Linked DNA regions of Homo sapiens: region 2 is linked to region 1. The links are contacts of gene promoters, found by promoter capture Hi-C in blood cells and fetal thymus (Javierre and others, 2016). All regions are on one chromosome and are shown on one strand. The core of a region is centred on a gene start or on the middle of the fragment in contact, and the rest is flanking DNA. Distances in the headings are between cores, read along the strand shown.

The links. Contacts are between HindIII fragments. The CHiCAGO score rates a contact against its expected background, and 5 or more counts as called.
Region 2: a fragment that was not itself captured here is called in contact with the fragment with the promoter of PHETA1 in region 1 in 4 of 17 cell types (megakaryocytes, M2 macrophages, M1 macrophages and 1 more); the score reaches 7.1 in megakaryocytes.

Annotation. Positions count from the first base shown.
Region 1 is chr12:111,367,382-111,371,456 of GRCh38, reverse strand. PHETA1 (PH domain containing endocytic trafficking adaptor 1) reads left to right here and starts at 2,362. Exons shown (of 3, transcript NM_144671.6): 1 at 2,362-2,545. It overlaps LINC02356 (long intergenic non-protein coding RNA 2356), which reads right to left and starts at 2,196. Exons shown (of 4, transcript NR_187522.1): 1 at 2,137-2,196. RefSeq lists a silencer at 2,192-2,771. The HindIII fragment of the contact is 8,438 bases long and covers 1,791-4,075 here.
Region 2 is chr12:111,448,957-111,453,031 of GRCh38, reverse strand. SH2B3 (SH2B adaptor protein 3) reads right to left here. Exons shown (of 8, transcript NM_005475.3): 8 at 1,409-4,075. ATXN2 (ataxin 2) reads left to right here. Exons shown (of 25, transcript NM_001372574.1): 25 at 192-818. The coding sequence ends at 220. Among named protein-coding and RNA genes, the nearest start is that of SH2B3, 45 kb to the right of the region's middle. The HindIII fragment of the contact is 1,518 bases long and covers 1,093-2,610 here.

The DNA of each region.
Region 1 (4,075 bases), core at 1,113-3,612:
TGAAGGGTTTATCAGGGGTTTCCGCTTTTGTTTCTTCCTCACTTTCTCTTGCCACTGCCATGTAAGAAGTGTCTTTCACCTCCCGCCATGATTCCAAGGCCTCCTCAGCCATGTGGAACTGTAAGTCCAATTAAACCTCTTTTTGTTCTCAGTTTCGGGTATGTCTTTATCAGCAGTGTGAAAACGGACTAATACATATATCCATTAAATATATATCTATACTTAACCACTTCTCTCCACCTCCACTGCTCCACTCTAAGCCACCACCATCACTTGCTTGGACTACTGCAGTAGTGTTCTCCCTGATCGCCTGGCTTCTACTATCATTCCCTGCCCATAGCAGTCAGGGACCATGTTAAATCTAACACAGACCATGTCCCTCCTCTGCTCAAAACCCTCCCATGGCTCCTCATTCTTCTTAGAGTAAAAGCAAAATCTTTCCTCTGGTCCTTAAGCCCCTAGGTCACCTGGCTTTCTGGCTTTGCCAATAATCTCTGATCTATTGTGTTTTTTTTTTTGTTTTTGTTTTTTTTTTGTTTGACAGAGTCTTGCTCTGTCACCCAGGCTGGAGTGCAGTGGTGCAATCTCAGCTCATTGCAACCTCTGCCTCCTGGGTTCAAGTGATTCTCCTGTCTCAGCCTCCCAAGTAACTGGGATTACAGGTGTACACCACCATGCCTGGCTAATTTTTTTTTTTTTTTTTTTTTGTATTTTTAGTAGAGACCGGGTTTCACCATGTTGGCTAGGCTGGTCTCGAACTCCTGACCTCAAGTGATCTACCTGCCTCGGCCTCCCAAAGTGCTGGGATTATAGGCGTGAGCCACTGCGCCCAGCCAGCTGACCTATTTTCCTACTATTCTTCCCATTGCTCACTTGGCTCCACTGGTCTCCTCGTTGTTCTTCAAACATGCCCAGGATGGCCCCATTTCAGGGCTTTTGCACTTGCTGTTCCCTCTGCCTGGGACCTCCTTCTCCCAGATAACCACATGGCTCCCTCCCTCATTCCTCCAGGTCTGTCCTCAGAGAGGCCTTCCCTGACCACCTTGTCTAAAAGCTGCACTTCCAGCTTGGGCAAGATAGCAAGACCCCCCCGATCTCTACAAAAAATTAAAAAAAATTAGCCGGGTGTGGTGGTACACACCTGTAGTCCCAACTACTTGGGAGGCTGAGGTGGGAGGCTCGGTTGAACCCAGGAGTTCAGGTTACAATGAGCTGTGATTGTGCCACTGCACCCCAACCTGGGTGACAAAAAAACACAAAAAACAAAAAACAAAAACAAAAAAACTGCACTCCCAGGCTTTCTGCCCCATTGCCTTAGCGTACAGTCCTAGCATGAATCACTTCCAGAACTCATTTGTGTTGTCTTGATTCCTGGCTGCACCTGCTTACCTGGTTCAGGTACAGTGCCTGGCACACAGTAGGCGCTTAGTGAGAGGCTGTACAATGGAGAGCTGACCCTGGTCTGTCCTGTTCTTCCTGCTTTCAGGCCAGGACTTAATAGTGATTGGGAGGTGGCGGGTGGTGGAGAAGAGGCGGCAGGAACAGGAAGGAAGGGTTCAAGGAGGTGGGCAGGGCAAAAACAACAGCAATTCCTATTTCTTGAGAGCTTTCTGTTGTGCCGTGCACTTTACATATCATGATGGTCTTTATTTTCCGGATGAGGAAACGGAGGCTTAGAGAAGTGAAATGATTTCTCTAAGCTCACACAGTGTTCAGTGGCCTAGTGCGACTCGAACTCAAGTCTGCCTAATTCCAGAACTTCCTCTCTTCACCTGGAGCCAGGGGAAGCTTGCGAGGCGCCCTGTCCGTATGGAACAGTGCTGTACGCAAATGTCCTGGATTCAGCTGTTTTTTCTGCCACTCACACATTTTTCAGGAATTAGAGCTATTTTTCTAATTTAACTGGGCATTAAATTTGCTAAACCTGGCAACCCAGGTTTAGCAAATATTTTTATTATTTGTAGAGATGGTGGTCTCCCTCTGCTGCCCAGGCTGGTCTTGAACTACTAGGCTCAGGCAATCCTCCTGCCTCGTCCTGGGGGGAGTTCGGACTTAAGCCTAGGACTTCAGCGAATGGCCCGCCCAGGACCCCCAAATGCTTTTGCAGGCTAATCCACGACCTGGGCCAGTCCTTACCTTTGGAATCGCAATGAGCTTCCCGGGCTCCAATCCGCTTTTCTGGGCTAGGGAACTGGGGAGTCGCGAGCCAGGAGCGGACCCTTTAAGAGTGATTTCGAGGGCGGGCTCACGGGGGCGTGCCGGTTCGGGGCCTGCCAATCGGGAGGTGGGAAGAACGCGGGGGCGGGCCCGGCGCGAGCAGGCTGGGAAGGGTTAAAGGGGCGCGCCCGTGGGTCGCGGACTGTCCGGTTGCTCCCGCCTCCTTCCGTCGGATCCGCGCTCTCCCGCGGCTGCGCCGGCCCGGCCGCCCAGGAGACAAAGCGCTGCCGCCGCCGTCGCCGCCACCGGGCCAGTCCCGAACCATGGCCGGGCCACCCCGCAACCTCGCGCCTCCCGTCCCGTCGCCGCCCTAGGCCTGCGCTGCGAGGTAAGGCGGGCCTGGCGGGGGGACATGCACGAGGACATGGGACCCGGGTCGGGCCGCCCTGGGCCTCGGGGTCCCCCGGCCACCTGGAGAGCGCGTTGCGGGGATCTTCCCCGCTGGGACTCCGCACCAGTGGTGACTTCTCCAGCTGCCGAGGCGAACTTGGCCAATGACCACCCTCCCCTCTCTCAGCCCATAGGGACGTCTGCCGCTGGTGGGGACTGCGGATAAGCCCCCCATTCTGCCGCTGATCACCCATCTGGGGCTCTGGCTGTCCTTTAAGGAACTTAAGAGAGCTCCCACGCACAACACACAAAGGGACAGAGAGCAGCCGGGAGCAGGGCCACACCTGGAGCAGCAGCCCCTGCCGTGGACAAGGGGGCTGCCTGTGTCTGGACGGCGGTGCTGGCGTGTCTCTGGGGTCCCTGCTGGGGCGGTGACGGCCAGGCTGCTCTTTAGTGTTCTTGGCACACATGTTTTTCAGCCTGTGCCTGCCACACCCTCTTCCCCACGCCCGCTGCTGGGGGACACTGAGGGCAGCTGGATTCAACCCCAGGACCTGCGGTACTGGCTTCTTTTCGTTGATGTGAGTGCCAAAATGCCATGCTTCAGTCTCCCAGGAGACCTGGGTTCCGGGGCCAGCTGTGCCCCTGGAGATCTTGGATGAATTATTTGCCTTTTTGACAGCTCTTTCCCTGAAAGCTCACTACCCACCAAGTATTTTGCAAAATGACTCTTCAGGAGTCAATTCACTCAGCCCTTAGAGGGATGGAAGTTAACGTCACCATTTTGCAGATGAGGCTGAGAAAAAACTCCGACTCACAGCAGCTAATATTTGCAATCCATTTCCCATAGTTTGCCAGTGGGTTTTCCTTCTTTTAGCTCATGAACCCTCGCCACACAGCCCAATTTAACAGATGAGGACACTGAGACTTGGAAAGGTGAAACGACTTGTCCAAGGTCCTCCAGCCTGGACCTGCGGAGGCAGGAACTTTGCCTTGGGAGCAGAGCTGGGCCAGGCTCCCTCCAGCTTCCTGTCTGGCCATGGGCTGTTGAATCAGCAGCAGTGCCCACAGTGGACTCTGAACTTCTTGGAAAACAGTGTGGGGAGATAAGGCAGGGGCCAGGCCTTCGCTCCAGGCAAGGCTGGCGCCTGTGCCCCTGCAGCTTCCTGTCTTCCCAGTTCTGGTGGAGGCAGGGGTCATGGGCAGAGCTGGGTCCTGTGCCTGCTGGTGACCTTGAACCAGTTTGGCCTCTATCTAGGCAGTCGGGGGAGGAGGGTTGCTGAGCAGGAGGGAAGTTGCTATTCCTTTGGCCTTGATGGGGTGGAGAGACCCCAAGATCAGCCCCTTTATTTGGGTGGCTTGCCTGGAGCATGTGATTCTGGGCACAGTTGTATGCCTCTAGCCAACTTATTGAATCTCCCTGTGTCCATTTCCACATCTGTGAATGTGGGGTGAGATCCCTTGTCTTGGGGCTGTTGAAAGGTTTCAGAAGATACTGCAGAATGAATCAAACAGCTGTGTGAGTACC
Region 2 (4,075 bases), core at 602-3,101, 82 kb before region 1:
TGACTGGTTTGTTTCTACCCACCCACCCAACCCTCCCCACTTTGGTGCAGATGGGAGGGGGAAAAGCGAATTCAATTTTGAGTTTTGTTCAGCTAGCACGAGGATAGTTTACAATCATGTGCTGCAGAGACACTAGGCTGATGTGTGGTGTTGCCAGTTTTCTGTTTCAATGTTCGCTTTTCTTTTTACAGTACAAGCCCACCACCAACAGCAGTTGTAAGGCTGCCCTGGAGGAACCGAAAGGCCAAATTCCCTCCTCCCTTCTACTGCTTCTACCAACTGGAAGCACAGAAAACTAGAATTTCATTTATTTTGTTTTTAAAATATATATGTTGATTTCTTGTAACATCCAATAGGAATGCTAACAGTTCACTTGCAGTGGAAGATACTTGGACCGAGTAGAGGCATTTAGGAACTTGGGGGCTATTCCATAATTCCATATGCTGTTTCAGAGTCCCGCAGGTACCCCAGCTCTGCTTGCCGAAACTGGAAGTTATTTATTTTTTAATAACCCTTGAAAGTCATGAACACATCAGCTAGCAAAAGAAGTAACAAGAGTGATTCTTGCTGCTATTACTGCTAAAAAAAAAAAAAAAAAAAAATCAAGACTTGGAACGCCCTTTTACTAAACTTGACAAAGTTTCAGTAAATTCTTACCGTCAAACTGACGGATTATTATTTATAAATCAAGTTTGATGAGGTGATCACTGTCTACAGTGGTTCAACTTTTAAGTTAAGGGAAAAACTTTTACTTTGTAGATAATATAAAATAAAAACTTAAAAAAAATTTAAAAAATAAAAAAAGTTTTAAAAACTGATCAAGTTAGTGTGTGTCTGTATAAGCTACTTCTTTGTAGGATACTTAATATCAAAGCAGGTGTGCTAAGGGTGCATTTTGAATATCCCGGAAGGTAGCTGTGAAATGATTTTTCTTCTTCACCCTTAGTTCTGGTTCAAGGTATCTCTAGAAAAAGACAAGACTGAGCTATTCTCTTTGGTGGATTAGAGATCTGCTTCAGGAGGAGGAAGGTTGGCCAGAGTTGGGCAGCACTGAAATTCCACATCCTCGGGCTGACACCGATTCTGTAAGCTTCCTTTTTAATATCTCCTGAACCAAAATGAGTGTCATTAGCTGGAAGTTCCCAATTCGGGCATTTTTCTACTTTACCAGTAGGGGGCAGGAGACACTCAGAAAAAAATTGCAATAAAGAAATCCAGAGGGCATGAAGGCTGAAAAGATACAAAGATGTACAAAGCTGCTTATTGACATGGATGGACTCATAAGCATTTGTTAGTATTCCCAGATTGCAACGGGGAGGACAAAGGGAAGAGCGAGTATTTGGGCAGGGCAAGGATTTTGTAGAGACACCATGGTCTTAATAGAGCCTTTAAATATTATGACAGCAAATCAAGATTCTGAAAACTTTTTAATTCACATATAGCAATTTGTACATTATAGCAAAATTTGCATTATTCAAGAATAAGTTACTTGTACAGTACATAAAACAATACATAAAAATTTGCCAAATACCTTCTGCCTATAATGATACAAGATGAATCCACTTTATGTTATCACAATGTGCTGTATATTCTAACCAAACACAGGATGTCAGATGTGTCCTTGTTAATATACTCGCAAGTTCCTCTAGCTTGTGGGAGATGTTAGAGCTAACACATTTGCAGTAAGGGACTTAGTCCTGAATAGAAAGCATGAAGGAATCTCAGGCAACCCTCAGGGAAGAGTCCAAGGCCTTGACTTTAGGTTAAGAAACTGTTATGTAAAAATAGTGTTCTCTGGCCCAAGATTTTAATGATTGCTATTCCTTTTTCCTACGGTCCAGAAATGATCAAAGGCAGAAGATTTATACCAGATAAAGCCATATGGATTGCTGGTCTAAAATTCAAGGCAGGTTAGTTGACTTAATTCTTTGGTGCTGGTGACTGTTAGTTTGTAAAAGTTCAATAAGTCAGATGAAGGAAGGGATGGTGCCGGGAGCTGTCAAGCTGTACTGGTGGGGTCTGTAATTAGAGCTAACTGGAGGGATCATGATGTCTACTGTCCAGTTTGGTGTTGAGCCATGGCTCTCGGTAGAAGTTGCCGGCTGGGGCCTGGTCAGGACTGGAAGGAGAGTGGTGGGATGTGCTGTGCCTATGGTGGGCTAGCTGCAGCCAGTGGGGTGCCTGCCCCACACTGCTGCCCACCCCTTCATCAGCTGATTCTGCTCCCACATAAAGAAAGGTGTTGGCTTAGTGTCACTTCTTCCTAGAGCCATGGGAGTTTTCTGTCAGCATGTTTTTGAGCTGTCCTGGTAACTTGGACGGGAAGCAGTCTGGAGGTGGGTGCCTTCCAAATCTCTGCCACAGAATCTGAACTTGCACTTTGCAGCCTGTTAGTCAGAGCTGCTAAGTTTGCTCTACCTGGTGTGCCTCTTGGCACCACCTGAGAGATGTATGTAGAGAGGCTGCTAAGAAATGAGTGCCCCTGGCATGAAGACGTCATATCCCAGATGTTTAACTTCTGGCTGGAGGGAGGGAACTTAATTTGGTTCATTATCTACTGGGTACCTTTCCTGTGCGGAGGGGAGGACCAGTGACTTTCCATAATAAGCTTTCTCCTTTAAAAAAACTTCAGACTCTTACTTACTCTTTTGGTTCACACTAATTAGCATTCATTTTCCAGAGAAAGCTGCTTGACTTTGAGGAAATAAAGACAGGTGTCCTTAAAAATGGACTGCAAATCTGGATCAGTGTCAGGTCTGCTTTAGGGTCCATGAAATCACCCAAGAGTGTTGGTACTAAAAGTGGTGTAGGCTGGGCGCGGTGGCTCGCGCCTGTAATCCCAGCACTTTGGGAGGCCAAGGCGGGTGGATCACCTGAGGTCAGACATTCGAGACCAGCCTGGCCAACATGGTGAAACCCTGTCTCTACTAAAAATACAAAATTAGCCAGGCATGGTGGCTGGTGCTTGTAATCCCAGCTACTTGAGAGGTCGAGGCAGAATCGCTTGAACCAGGAAGGTGGAGGTTGCAGTGAGCCAAGATTGCACCACTGCACTCCAGCCCGGTTGACAAGAGAAACTCCATCTCAAAAAAAAAAAAAAGAAAAGTGCATAGGGGTTTGTTCCCCCACCCTCTGAAAGACCCCAAGGAAATTCTAGAAGCAAAAATTTGACCTCTTGGAGCACAGAGACTAAGTATAAGTGGAAGAAGCAGACCTAACCCTCCTCCCAGGCAGTCAGTCCTATGAGTTTTAGGCTGAGGTTTCATTTTAGCCTCTGATCGATGTATCTGTAAAGCTGATCTAAACTCCCAGTTTCCTAGAAGCCACTGCTGTGAGCCTGGGGGTTGTACTGAATGGCTCTGCTGGCACCCAAGAGCAGCTGACTCCACTGTCACTGCCCCCGTTTCTGAGCCTCCAGACAGGTTCTGGGAGGAGCCAGCCCCCTATGAATTGTATCACTTGTATAGATAGAGATTTGACTTCAGGACCTCCCTGGATGGTGGAGATTGTGTGTGCCCATGTGTGCAAGGAGATAGATAGATTCTCAATCCAGTGAAGCAGTAGCCAGCTAGAACAGAACACTGATTGTGGGCTATTAAAGGAGTTTCTCATTAGTTATGGCACCAGATTCCCAGCTTCCATTTTGGCTCAAAAAAGGAGCCTAAAACCCACTTGTGGGATAATTTAATAAGCCATTAGATGCTTGGAGGGCACCAAGCCAGCCTTGTTGCTGAAGGATTTACTAGAAAGGGCCTAGGAGTCCTTCTTCCCTTTTTGCTTGCTCTTCCCCTAGCCCCAGTTAATTTAACTATCACTGTAAAGCTGCTGTAAACCAGAATCCAGTTTTTTATTCGTAAGGCACCAGGATAGAACTGTTCTTGCCACCCTCCTATTTCAGTAATTGCCTGAATTTCCCTGAAAGGGTGACATACTTCACTTCTTGACATTTAGGAAGGACAGTGGCCACTCAGTGGCAGGTGACTGTCCCGAGGATGCAGTAGACAAGCCAGCATGCTGGCTCAGACTGTAAATTAGGTAGGGTTTGCATAGCTGTTTCTGACTACAAAAATAGCAT